2 separate regions of the Homo sapiens genome follow, and region 2 is linked to region 1. Evidence: promoter capture Hi-C in 16 types of primary human blood cells and fetal thymus (Javierre and others, 2016). All regions are on one chromosome and are shown on one strand. The core of a region is centred on a gene start or on the middle of the fragment in contact, and the rest is flanking DNA. Distances in the headings are between cores, read along the strand shown. Region 1 holds the start of RNFT2 (ring finger protein, transmembrane 2). Region 2 overlaps MED13L (mediator complex subunit 13L).

Evidence for each region. The method cuts DNA at HindIII sites, captures the fragments that hold promoters and counts their contacts. A CHiCAGO score of 5 or more calls a contact.
Region 2: a contact is called between a fragment that was not itself captured here and the fragment with the promoter of RNFT2 in region 1, in 1 of 17 cell types (monocytes). The highest score is 5.0, in monocytes.

Annotation. Positions count from the first base shown.
Region 1 is chr12:116,734,245-116,741,413 of GRCh38, reverse strand. It overlaps RNFT2 (ring finger protein, transmembrane 2), which reads right to left and starts at 3,099. Exons shown (of 11, transcript NM_001382266.1): 1 at 3,044-3,099; 2 at 893-1,069; 3 at 320-378. The coding sequence starts at 916. It overlaps SPRING1 (SREBF pathway regulator in golgi 1), which reads left to right and starts at 3,345. Exons shown (of 5, transcript NM_024738.4): 1 at 3,345-3,624. The coding sequence starts at 3,514. RefSeq lists enhancers at 2,817-3,076, 3,845-4,803 and silencers at 3,267-3,526, 3,607-3,656. The HindIII fragment of the contact is 21,202 bases long and covers 1-7,169 here.
Region 2 is chr12:116,121,911-116,129,079 of GRCh38, reverse strand. All of the region lies in intron 2 of MED13L (mediator complex subunit 13L), which reads left to right. Among named protein-coding and RNA genes, the nearest start is that of MIR620, 23 kb to the left of the region's middle. The HindIII fragment of the contact is 2,145 bases long and covers 1,371-3,515 here.

The sequences.
Region 1 (7,169 bases), core at 1,850-4,349:
AACATTTGTTGTTTAAACCACCCATTCTATGATATTTTTGTGATAGCAGCCTGTATGGACTAAGACATCTCTATAAATCAAAATTCCACAGGTACATTCATTGATACAATGAGTCAGGTGGCTCACCTATCACACAGGACTTTGAAATTTAGCATAAAAGAAAGAGCAAGCTATTATGCGTTGAATGTTTAGTATGAGGCCATCAGTGTGACTCTAACAACTAACGCTGAGGGTGAGGTATTGTTCAATCCAGTTTTGGGTTGCCCCTCACCACCCGAAGCCTAGAGCCCTCAGATGGAACAGAAGCAGGGATGCCTACCTTTCAGGTGGAATGTTATCCGTGTTGCTGCTGTGGCGTCTCTGCATCTTCCTTAACACCTAAAACCCAACACATGGGTGAGCCAGAGTCTCCCAACACTCCCACTGCCTGTCAGATTGCCAAGGTAATTGTAAACTGCAAACCTGCACTAGTCGTATCTTAGACCCCTAGTGCTCTCTGGCATTTTCCAAAGTATGTTTCAATCTTTCATGCCATTCCATCCTCAATGTGACATTCTATCCCATGAGGAAAGCTATCACCCCATTTCACAGAGGAGGACGATGAGACTCAGAGGTGGAGAAAGTCCTCATGTGAGAGGATAACGCGGTAAACTGTGCAGCCAAGAGGTGCTGGATGAAGTGAAGTGGGCAGCGGACTGGCAGGAGACATGGATTCTGGGTTGATGCTGCTGCTAACTTGCTGTGACCCTAGACAAATCAGTAACCCCTCTGTGGGTTCAGATTCCCCATGTGTTACATGGGAGGGGTGGAGTGGTCAAACCAAAACTTCCTTCCAGCTCTCACATTTAATCAAGTAGTAATAAAGATGCAAATTCTCTTGGAGACGTGTCACCTGATTCACTGTGAAGAGCCACATGGACTTCAGAACTCCATGTTGACGACACTGGAGGTAGGCATTCGGGAATCCTCAGGGGGATGTGACCAATGGATCCCAGAGAGGACAGGCCTCCCCCTCCTCTTCGTCTCCAGAGGGATGCACAGTCAGGGGAGCTTGCCAGAGACTCCAAACCTGGATGGAACAGAACACCTGGATGAACAGTCCCTGCGATACCTTGAATCTGCTAAGAAGCCTTAGGACATTGTTGGTAGCTATAAGCAGATGATTCCATCTGCTCAGTATCTCTGGGTAGCCTCTCAGTGATCCCCCCTTGAAACTCCTTTTTTTTTTTTAAGACGGAGTGGTGCGATCTTGGCTCACTGCAACCTCTGCCTCCCAGGTTCAAGCGATTCTCCTGCCTCAGCCTCCTGAGTGGCTGAAATTACAGGCTTACAGGCATGCGACACCACGCCCACCCAATTTTTGTATTTTTAGTAGAGATGGGATTTCACCATATTGGCCAGGCTGGTCTCAAACTTCTGACCTCAAGTGATCCGCCTGCCTTGGCCTCCCAAAGTGCTGGGATTACAGGCATAAGCCACCATGCCCGGCCCTCTTTGAAACTCTTAAGGTATTGTATTTCATCCTATTGTCAAACTAAGAGTCCTGATTGGGGAAGCCAGAAAATATGTTTTAAACCCTCCAACGGCTGCCCAGTGCAATCAGAATCAAACCCGAGCTCTGTCCATAGCCTACGGGTTCTTCCTGATGTAGCATCATCTGTTTCCAACTGCATTTCCTCCCATTCTCCCTTTTCCCACTCCTGTCCACCCACAGTGGCCCTTCTGTTCCTCTAATGTGTCAGCGTGTCCCTGCCTCAGGGCCTTTGCACTTGCTGTGCCCTCCCCTTGGAATACTTTCTCCTCTAAATGTGGCAGGGCTTGGTCCCGCAGGGCAAATGTCGTCTCTTCCCAGAGGCCTTCTCTTCTCATTCTCCTGACTCCCCGTAATATTGCCCTGTTTTATATTATTCATAGCACTTATTTGTTCATGTTTGCTTATTTATTTATGATTTGTCCTCCCCATTAGAATATAAATGCCATTCCTGAAAGTAGGGATCCTGTCTACTTGGATCACCCCTCTGCCTCAGCATCCAGGACACTGTTTGGCACAGAGTGGCGCTCAACAAGTATTTACTCAATGAATAAAACATCTATGGGTCTCCCAGTTCCCCTTTTCTAGATCCCTTGCTCCCTGTCCCACCTTTCACCCTAGCAAGGTAATAAGGGCCATCTACTTCCCATGAAAAGGTTTAGCCTCCGTGAATATCTTCTTGTCTCTGGAGGCAGAGCCAATATTGTGGATATAGGGTGTCTATATCAGTCAGATGGTGTCTGACTTCAGTTTAGGGCACGATTATTGGCTGTTGAATGACTTCCTAATCCTGACCAGGCTTCTTGAGGGGGCAGCAATGGTGTCACTAGGGCCACTGATTAAAAATGACCCGCCAGTGAAGCCTCCTTTCTCTTTTGAAAAATTAGGTAACAAACCGGTCAGCAGCAGCATCTTCATATATCAAGAAAAGGTCATTATATAAATATTTTTCAAGAATTTGCAATCTCAACTTAATCCTCCTCTCGCCCCTCCCTCCATTATCCCACATTGCAAATCCTTGGGGGAAAATAAAATTCATATTCCAAAGTTCTCATCCACACATTTAACTCCTAAATCGAATGCTCGAAACTCTACTTTCGGATGCTTGTATTGGAAGAGGCTTCGGATTCTTTGTCGGAAGCAGGCCGTACATAATTCTGGAATAAATTTTTGCACGCGGGATGCATCTGAATGAATGAAACGCTTTTTAATCCTCTGCTCTGTACATCCCACTATGTCCCTTTGAAGGACCGCACCGAGACTTTTCGATGCTTGCGATGGTTCAAGTTGCGCCCCTGGGGCCCGTTACAGGACTGCACCGAAATGCACTCAGAGGAGCATCGCCTGCATCACTTGGACTGGAAGCCGGCAGGTGCACTTCGGGAACAACGTCGCGAGCGCTTTTCATCCCTGCAACCAACACACAGCGCAAAACGCTCTGGGACTGCAAGGGCAGGAGACTACACAGACCATGATGGGAGAAAAGAAAAAAAAATCGCGTTCTCTTTTTACCTGCCCAGACAATTCAGCAATCACAGCCGCATCATTCAGGTCCAGCCAAGCCAATCACCCGCGCAGCCTGGGCAGCATGTGACTTCCGATGCTTCCGGCCTCCTATTGGGTGGTTTCTTGGCGTCGCCGGGTCCGGCGCTAGGACCCGGGCACAGCTACGCCCGCAGCACTCACGCGATTGTCCGCCCCCTTTCCCGGCACTTAACCAATAGGAGGCCGCCGTTCCTTAGGGACCAATGGTGAGAAGATCTTGCGCGACTAGCCCTTGTCGCTGCGGAGCGGAGGCGGGGCGTAGGGCGGGGTCACGTGGGGCTGCGCCCAAGGCTGCCGGGAGCAGACTGGGCTGCGGGCGGCGGGGCCGGCGCCTGCCTGGAGGGATGGGGCTGCCGGGCGCGTAGGGGCCATGCCGCCCGGGACCCGGGCCTGCCGCGTTCCGCGCCCCGGCCGCCGCGCCCCACGTCCGCGCCGGGATGGTGAACCTGGCGGCCATGGTGTGGCGCCGGCTTCTGCGGAAGAGGTGGGTGCTCGCCCTGGTCTTCGGGCTGTCGCTCGTCTACTTCCTCAGCAGCACCTTCAAGCAGGTCAGTGGCCGCCCTTCCCCTCCTCCCCTTCCCTTCTTCCTTCCTTCCTCCCCCTTACTTTACTTTCTCCTTCCTTCCTTCGTTACCTTCCTCCTTTTTTCCTTCCTCCCTGTCTTCCTACCCCTTCCCTTCCTTTCTTTCTCCCCTTCCCTTCCTTCCTCCTTCCTTCCCTTCTTCCTACCTCCCCTCCTTCCTTATCTTCCTCCTTCCTTCCCCTCTCCCTGCCTCCCTTCCTTCCTTACCTTCCTCACCTTCCTCCTCCTTCCTTCCTCCCCCTTTCCTTCCTCCCCCTTCCCTTTCTTCTTTCCTCCCCTTTTTCCTCTCCCTTCCCTTCCGTCTTTCTTCCTTCCCTTCCTCCTTCCGTCCTCCTCCTTTCTGTCCCCCTCTCCCTTCCTTCTTCCTTTACTCCCTTTCTTCCCTGACATCCTCTTTCCTCACTTCGTTCTTCCTCCTTCCTTCCCTTCCTCCTCTTTTTCCTTACTCCTCGCGTTTGTCCGACCTCCCGACTTCTGCAGCGGCGCCGCCGGGGCGTCCGAGGGTGGGGAGAGGTGCGCATTCCTGTCCCGGTCTCAGCACGGGTGAGGGACCTGCCCACCGCCTTGGTCCCTGCAGCGGGAAGGGGTTGCTAGGCCAGGGCAGAGCTGGGACTAGAACCCCGAGTTGAGGACCCTTCAGCGGTGGGGACTGCTTTTATGAACACCTCCCTGCTTTTCACCTGCCCGGTCCAGAGCTAAGAGAGGGCGTGCATTTGCTGGCTTCATCTTCGCAGCAGGCCTGGGAGAAGTGGGGTTCCCAGTATTACAGTGGGGGAAACCAAGACATAGGTGGCGAGGGTCGGCCAGCCCTCGCATGGGTGCCCTTCGTTTAATTTGGGGGCTCTGTGTCCTCCTGGGTGACTCAAAAGGACCCACAGTTCCTTTTATGCTTTTTGTGCATAACTTGATTGGTAGAATTCCACCCCTCCAACACACTGCACCCTTTCATTTTTCTTCCATGTGAGAATTTCTGGGAGAAACAGCAAGGAGCACGGGTGGGGAAATCTTACCCAAAGCATTAATAAGTTTGTCTAGAAGTCCAGGTTGAGTGCTTAGTTGTGTAGAAAGGGTGGTTACACCCCAGGGTGCACCCAGGATAATGGGTTATGCTGTTGTCCTGACATGGTTATAAAAAGCTCTCCTTTTTACTCTCAAAGCTCAAGTGTGTAAATAAAATATATAAGTGAATAGAACATTGATAAAACTATGTGGTCACTCTACATTTAGTGGATTGGCAGGGGAGCTGTGAAAAGGGAAGAATAGGGAATTGTACGTGACCTGCCACCTTAGGCAAACAGAGAGGCTGAGTGTTGTAAGTCCCTTTTATTGGCCGGGATGTCTGGGCAATCATGTGACTACCAGACTTCTGTGACTTGTGTTTTCTGCCACCTCAGACACCTCCTCACAGTCGCGTGTTGTCCCTTCTCTGTCTTGTGACCCCTGAGTGGTGGGGTGCGCCAGGACTCCGTCCTCTGCCTTCCTCTCTATCTGACTCAGGTAATCTCTGGGCCATTGTTTAAATACTCAGGTGATCTCTGGAGGTATGCTGTTGATGCCAGTAGTTGATAACAACAGCCTAGATCTGTCCAGAAATCCCCAAATTCTTATATCCAATTGCCTAGTTGATATCTTTTTTTTTTTTCAATTTTTTTTTATTGTGGTAAAATACGACATAAAATTTCCCATCTTTTTTTTTTTTTTTTTTTTTTTTTTTTAAAGACTGAGTTTTGCTCTTGCCCAGGCTGGAGTGCAGTGGGACGACCTCAACTCACCACAGCCTCCACCTCCCGGGTTCAAATGATTCTCCTGCCTCAGCCTTCTTGAGTAGCTGGGATTACAGGCATGCGCCACCATGCCCAGCTAATTTTGTATTTTTAGTAGAAACGGGGTTTCTCCATGTTGGTCATGGCTGGTCTTGAACTCCCGACCTCAGGTGATCCACCCACCTCAGCCTCCCAAAGTGCTGGGATTACAGGTGTGAGCCACCACGCCTGGCCAGAATTTCCCATCTTAACCTTTTTTAACATGGAGTCTCACTCTGTTACCCAGGCTGGAGTGTAGTGGCATGATCTCAGCTCACTGCAACCTCTACCTCTCGGGTTCAAGCAGTTCTCCCTGCCTTAGCCTCCTGAGTAGCTGGGATTACAGGCATGCACCACCACACCCGACTAATTTTTGTATTTTTAATAGAGACAGGGTTTCGCCATGTTGGCCAGGCTGGTCTCGAACTCCTGACCTCAAGTGATCCACCTGCCTCGGCCTCCCAAAGTGCTGGGATTACAGGTGTCAGCCACCACGCCCGGCCCCATCTTAACCATTTTTAAAGTGTGCAGTTCAGTGGTATTAAATACATCCTTAACGCTGTGCGACCATCACCACCATCCATCCCCATAACGCTTGTAGAAACTGAAACTTAATATTCATTTAACAATAACTCTCCATTTCTCCCTTTCCCCAGCCCCCGGCAACCACCCTCCTACTTTCTAGTTGACGTTGAATGTGTTCGTGTTTGGACCAACAGAACTCTTGATTCTCTGCCAGCACTTGTTCCTCCCCGAGTCTTCCCAGTCTCGCTCAGTGGCATTACTGTTCACCAGGTATTAAAGCCACTTCATTCTTTTTTTCTCCTCTCACTCCCTATATCCACAATATTGGCTCTGCCTCCAGAGTGTATCCTGAATCTGCTCATTTCTTCAGAGTGTCACTGCTGTCACTCTAGGCCAAGCCACTGGCATCTCTCGTCTGGACCACTGCAGTAGCCCAGCTGCAAGTCTCTGCTTCCATTCTTGTCTTCTTCTCTTCCCCGCAGTAGGGGTGATAATCTTTAAAAAGATGGGATCATCATGGCATTTCCCCAGGTAAAATTCTCAGATAAAACTCTGGATTGTCTTCCAGGATCTCTGCATGGTTGAATCTTTTTTGTCATTTCAGGTCAGACTGTTACTGCTTCAGACCATACCTGGTGACACGGTGTAAATTACTTCAATTCCTTGCTCATAAACCTGCTTTATTTTCTTTGTGGTAGGCATCACAAACTGAACATTTCTTGTTCATTTACTTGCTTATCTGTCTTGCCTCACTCTCTCTTCTAGACTATAATATTCTTGAGAACAGAGACCTTGTCTGTCTTGTTCATAGACTCTCCAGCCCCTAGGATACTGCCAGCCACTTCATGGGAATCCAAATATTGATTGAACAAACAAGTGAGTCTTTTTAACTGGGATGAATGTTTCTTTTCAGTCTGGCATACTTCTGCTAACCTTTCACCTCTTGGCTCAGGTGCTGTCCACTCTGTCACCTTCCCTACAACCACCTTTTCACTACCCTGATACATCATCTTCATTTTAAGATTATAGTCATGCGTCGCTCAAGATTCTGAAAAATGCATCTTTAGGTGATTTTGCTACACCCCTGGGCTATGTGGCATAGCCTATTCCTCCTAGGCTCTAAGCCTGTACAGCATGTGACTGTACTGAATACTGTAGGTGATTGCAACACGATGGAAGGTAT
Region 2 (7,169 bases), core at 1,194-3,693, 610 kb after region 1:
TGAATAAGCCAGAGATACTTGAGAATAATTATATGGAAGCTGATTTTCCAGGAAGAAAATAATATAAAATTACTAAAACGTCCACAAAAATGCTGCTACAGCATTTTTCCACTTTTATTTTTTTTTGCATTATGTTCCCCCTCATTCTTCAAGGGAAAATAAAAGATTCCTCAACCTTTGTAGATGTGGCTTATGATAAATACTGTAGGGACCTTAGCTCATTGTACCTAATAGAATGGAACATGGAACACATATGCCCTATTCTTGTTTACATGCACTTACATCAATATGTAATATGAATTTAATTTAATATCACTCCATAACTGTGTAACTTTATTTTGTTATTTCAGATATAATGAACACGACTGATAGGACATTGTAAATTTATAGTGATTAAGAGCTATCATCTGTAGTAATAGCCTATAGAGTTGATAAGTAGAATGAATTATGCATAGGAAAGAGAATAAAGAGTTAATTCCATTTCTAAATGTTTCTTATTGGGATAGAAGTTTTATAAGTTAAAGTTGCCTGATTTTAAAACATTAAACTCTTAGGAGACCCACTTCATGACAGTAACTACTTTACATTGTGAGTTTATTGTGGTATTTTAATTTATTTTCTTGTTTTTTTTTTTCCTCAAGAATACCCTTCATTAGTCATTCTAATCTTGTTGATTATCAAGGGTTCAAGTAAGAGCCTTCAATTGTCAGTAGGAAGAAAAGCTAAGCCTTTTATAAACGTGTCTGTTTGGCTATTTTGCGTAGTATAAAAATCCTTAGAATCATATTAGGTTGCATTTTGCTCCACTTTGAATGTTTTCCTCAGGGTCACAATGTTTTTCTCTGTGGAAGGTTCTTTGCAGTATAGTAAGCACACAAGGATTGACATTGCCCTTGTACATATCGTGCTGACATTCTTCTTTGTGGGTGAGAAGACAAGTAGTAAATGAATAATTTCTTACAGTTGTCTGCTACAAAGCAATAGATGAGAAAGTGACTGACTGGGACAGGACTACTTTCCATTAGAGGGTCAGGTAGGGAATGCCGCTTGGAGGAGACAGCCAGATACAGGAAAAGGAAGTCAGATGTCTTGAGCTCACTTTGTTGGAAAAAAGAAGGCCAGTGCTGTTGAAATGAGTACACAGAGGGTGTTGGAAGAGGTAGACAGAGGTTTGATCAGGTGGAGCCTTGTAGGCCATGGTAAGGAGCTTATTAAATAGATTATTAATTCCATGAGAAGCCATTAAAATAAGGCTTTAAGAGGCAGGATGCTACGATGTGACTTAAGGTTTGAAAAAGATTACTTTGGCTCTCATGAATAATGGACTTCAGGTGCTTTGAGTGAAAGCAGGGAGACTAGTTTAAAAAGCTTTGCTTCTTGATGAAGCTGGATTGTAAAAGAAACGGGATGACAATTTCTGTACTTTACAAAGTGTTAGTATATCTTCTGTCCAAACAGCTGTTTTATGTTTACTGTTTCTTTAGGTTATTTTCTTTATCATCTGAACTGCTGAGTTATTCTGAGTGGGTAATATTGCCTTTGAATATATCTATATTTTAGTTAGAGTAGTAACTGTTTAACGGACTACATAGGGGTACTTATATTTAAAATTTAGTATAAAAAGTTTGGGTAAAGATTTATAGTAATTATAATTTTTGTTTATTCCATTACAGATATTTAAGCACACATCTGAAAAGTTGAGATCATGATGTATATACAGTTGAACTTTTAACCTATTATCTCATATGTATTTTTCGTTTTTGAATCGGAATTGAAAAAATGTTTTTAAATTATGAGTTATAACAAACAAAATTTCATACAAAAGAAATGAATTATTATATAACAGATCTAATATAGCTCCCAAGAAATACTACAGGCAACCAAAAATCTTTCTGAGAGCTCCATCACTATCAAAACTCTGTCTTTTAAAGTGATAAAGTAACTTTTATTGTTATGCTTTTTAATAGCTGGTATTTAAACTATGGAAAGAAGAATTAATATACTCAAGCACCAGTTGACAAACTATTGATAGCCTATGTTTCAAAAGATAATTTGTAAGTTAATTATTTGGAAAATATATATATTTTTTAACCTATGAAAAATCTATTCTGAATGGTGGGTAGATTCTAAGGCCTGCCTATCAAACTGATTTAGTCTGTAATGCTTGACCAGTGTTGGTTTGGGTCCTGGGTTTTGTAACTAGAAGGGGTAGATTGGTTAGGACTTCACTTTATAAACATTTAAAATCCTCAGAATCTGTCTTGGAAGGCTTTCCCACATTCTAGTGCAGTTTGTTAGAATTATGCAATATGAGTGGGAAAGAATCTCAAAGAAAGTAAAGATAACTATAAAAGAAGCAACAGAGCCAGTGAAGTGTTAGCATTGCCCAGTGGCTCAGGCTTTTTGGGTTTTTGGTTTGATTTATTCTTTCAACTTTTCTGGTAATTTGCAAATTCTATCCTCTTTGCAAACTCTTTGTATTTATTTGTAATACCTTTTCAAGTGAGCTCTCTGTAGAACTTCCTAAGTTATAATGGCTAAAACTACAACTGGATAAAACTGCAGCTGTCCTGGTTGAGACTGGAGATGGAAAGGGCCAGAGGGACTCACTGGGGCTCTTGCACAGGACTCTAGTACTCCAAGGACCACAGGAAGAAACCACTGCACCTTGTGTTATGGGAGCCGCCCAGGCCTGCCCTACTCCAGACTGTGCCCTATCCAAAACAACGGTGTTACTTAACTTTGCAACCAAAATGCCATTCTAGCCAGATTTCGAAAGAACATAGGATTGAACTCATTCACACCACTGCGACTGTAAATAACTGACCTTTATTTCCTAAAGGACTTGCAGTTTTCATATTGACTTGTTAATGCAAAGGAATCTTGTAGAGTTGAAACACCAACATGAAGTAAAAATATTGGCAGTGTTGGTGTGTTTAGGTCATTTATAAATTTTTTGCTTATGAGTTGGAAACTTCTTGGCTTAAGTTTTGGATAATGACAACTTTTCCTGGATATATTTTAACTTAAAAGTTTTGAGAAACTTTTATTGCTTTCCAATAGGTTGTTTTTGCATTCATAAACAAATTAATTTTGAAGACACAAGGGGAGAATTGTACATTCTGTCTTTTAAAAGTTGAGAATAATAATTTGTGATTCTATTAAGAGCCAGATAATTGTAACAGAAATTCATATGTAAACCATAGTTGTTTATGAAAGTAAAATGTTCTGATTACTAAGAATACATTTAAACTGAAATGTTTTTAAAATAAAAATTTTTAATGTGTGGTGACATGTTTTATACTGATGATTAACTTTGTCTTTTCCAAAAAGAAGACAAACAGGGAAAGTATGCAGAAGTAATTTGATTAGTTTTGGGGGAGTCATGACTTCACACAGTACAGAAAACCAAAATAAGAGAGACATGGATTGGGCACCGACAGTAGAAATTGTATAGATGTTATCTTCTGTAATAAGACTCATTGTTTGATTTCAGATGATGAAAATTTTAAGCTTGTGTAATTCTAAAATTGTGTGGGACACATAAAAACTTCTCTTCAAAATACACTGTGTTTAAGTGCACATTAGTGTTCAGTGGTCCATTTATAGACATATCAGAGTTAGGCTACACATTTTCTAGTTTCTAACCTGCTGTGGTAGCACAGGTCAGAAAACTCTAAAATCCTACTATTTAAAATTATTAAAGCATTTTGCTGTTTTACAAAAATTTGTTTGTTGTATGTACATAACCGTTTGCATTGATTGATTGATTGATTGAGATGGGATCACACTGTAGTGCCCAGGCTGGCCTTGAATTTCCGGGCTCATGTGTCCTCCCACCTCAGCAGCCTGAATAGCTGGGATTATGGGCTCCTGCCACATTGCCTGGCTACATAATTATTTTTTGAAAAGCTATTACAGGTTTCAAAGTTTTGTGAACCAGACTTAACTTTTTTTTATTATTGGTTAGTTTTCTTTTCTGTCTTAACAAATTTTCACATGTGCAAATTGTTTTATTTTGTAGCACATTCTTAGTGTAAAAATCAATAGTGTTGTAGAAAGCTTAAAAAAGAGACTTTTTAATTGCTTAATTGTACAGACTGCTAACTTTGAAAAAGTATTTTCCAATATTTTGGTTTAACTATGATCTTTCAATTTATGACAAATATTTTTTTCCTGTCAACTACCAAATTCTCTATAAACTACAACCCAGCAACACACATGTGTAAACCAACAGAAGATTGCATTTGTGTGTATGGAAAGGTGGTTCACTTTTTAAAATTCCTTAAGAAAACTGACTTTATATGTTGTCAGTATAATGTGGCTTATGACTTTTTTCTAATTTAAATTAGGGCCTTTATATTTACAGTTAAAACCTTCACCAGGTGCAGGGATTGATGGGCGTTAAGTGAAATGATAGACTGATCTAATTATTCTACATTCTTGTTTTTAACCAAAGTTACATTTTATAAACTGTGGTATAGTAGAAAGCAGTTTTTTTTCTGTCTTGGAGTAGCATTTTATATTAAGGAAAACAAATTATTATCTAGTAAAAGTAGATAACAAAGTGAAGAGAACAAATTATTTTGTTGTAAGATAATGGAAAAAAGGATACTACTGTTGAATTTTCTAGTCCTATAGTGAAAGAAGTGGAAAGAAGGTAGACCAATAGTCATTACTGTTTCAGTGACAAAAATAATTTTGTAATTTCTGCCTCCAAAAAATTGGATTTATAGAATGAATTTCTGTAAGAGTCTTTCTGCAATATTTGCCATAGACTGTCAAGCTGAAATAAAAGCCAAGGTACCCATCAGGTCTCAAGGAGATGGCACTGAGTTTGGTCTAAAGAAACCTTTGTGCACCAAGTCTTCACAGTAGTCAGTCAGTCTCTGTCTCTCTCTGTCTCTCTCTGTCTCTCTCTGTCTCTGTCTCTCTCTCTCTCTCTCTCTCTCTCTCGTCTTTCTCTCTCTCTCTGCAGATGTTATTTTTGCTACATTTGCTATTTTAACCTGTCAGTTAAAAAATAATTACTATGTCAGTATGGCTGGCAGCTCATATAGGAAAAATATGCTGTCTCTTAATCAAAGGTGATTACAGTTTTCCCCTGTCTATAAATGTGCTTGTTGTGTAACGAGAATGCATTAGTCTCAGCCTGATGTACGAAATGAAAGGCAGTAAGAAGCAGCACCATTGTTATCACTCCAGGCGTGTCTAATGAATCGTGTTTCCATGTTCTCTCGGTCACGCCGTAGAGTGCCCTCAGCCAGGGCTAAGCCTCCTGTAAAATGCTCTTTAAGATTATTGTAGCAAGAACAGAAATGCTGCATGGCTGGGGGTGGGGAGAGAATGCCAACGAGACAGCTGCATTTCAAACAGTTACAGCTGCAAGGATTACTCATAGTAATAGCAGTGACAGACAACTGTTTGAGCTTTAGTGTAAAAGGCAATTTGGGGACTTGCCCTGTCAGAATTTTAGTAGCAAGCTTCTGTGTGCACGTGTGTGTGCATGTGCGTGTGTTTTTTATTCAAATTAGTTTGTGTCTGAAGAGTGGAAGGAAATATTTTAAATTTTTACTTCTCAATTGTGCTAATGTTGAAATCAGTAGTTGACTCATCTTTATTAAAATCATTGTCCTAGAGGAAGTTTATAAAATGTTTATTTGTAGCAATGATGAATTTAAATGTATATGTTCTAACTGAATCACATGTCTGCTTTTCCGTCTCAAAATTTATCTTGTGATGATTCCTGTTTTAAAAATATTGGTTTTCCTTGTAATTTCTGAACATACAGCCTTGTTTAATATAGGATCCTTATTTTAAAAATTTATTTCAAATATGATGTAAGCTTATAAAAGTAATGCCTGTCATGAAATCTGGAAAATACTCAAAGAGGTAAAGGAGAAAACAATCATTATTCTAGCAGAGATAACTGTTAATTTTAATCCTTCTGGACCCTTGTTTATGCATTCTAGAGCATATTAAGAGCATGTTAATCATTTTAAAGGTTAAAAATGGTAATCATTTTAAAAAATATTTGGAAGAAGTAGCAAATGGGGACAAATTTGGTTTTGAGAAGTCAATAACAGCCATTGTGCAAGATTTCTTTTTCAGTGTGCAGCTATTAAAGTAACATTGCAGCCTGTTTTCTGTAGCAGTTGTCTTTTGAAGGCCTTGTACAGTTTATCTCGAAATTTAGTTTTATGGTTTCCTTCAATTTAAAGTTTGCTGGCTTTACAGGGAGTCTTGTGATCCATTGAAATGCTAACTTGGGTCGTGTCTCAACTGCTACAATGCTGTGTAGAAACTGTCATTAAAATTCTGGTTATCCTGCAACTGGCAGAGAACCCATGCTGATTCCTTAGGAAGATAGTACACTGTTAAAATTTTGAATCGCAATTGTGCTTCTGTCTGCCAAATATTATCAATATTTGTAATCACTTAAGGTTGCAAATAGTTTGAAATAAATGGAACGTTTTAGTATGTATCTTCTATCCATGATTCTTATTTGTTTGATGAATTGACATCGGGAAGGTTACAATCCATTTCCAACATAGATTTGTTAAGTGATACTGAATATTTTACACTCATGAGCAATTCAAGAAATCAGAGCTCTAAATAGGTTGAAGTTGATATAAGTAATAAGTCCATTTAGTTATTAATGACTTCAAATATAGATTCTACCAGGCAACTGATGGCAGCATAAATTGATCAGTCAGTGGTGGTGTAGTGTTGTAAGTCATTGGATTTTTTTATGTGTGAAGTGCTATATTTCATAATTAATGTAGCATTGTGCTCCTTTGTTACTGAGTTTCTTTGGTAAGTCAGTTTTTAAGAAAGCAGATACTTCAAAATCGTTTATTTATCTTGGTATCCTTCATTTGCTGCAGTTAGATTAAGTGGATACATGTTTCCTTGTTGTAATATCTGATTAGTGTAGTTTTTGGAAGTAGATTTAATAATTCAGAAGATTTTTTTTTTTAAACACTACGATGCGTTTTATATGTTTGAGGTAGAAATTGAAAACAAAGGCAGTGGGCAAATGATAAACCTTGGATTCAGAGCTATGCTATCTTTAGCCGTTAGTTACTGAAATCTAACTGGGAAACAATGTACTTGTTTCCTGTGCCTTCCTTTACTTGTGTTTCTGGAGTTTCGAGTGAAATTTGATT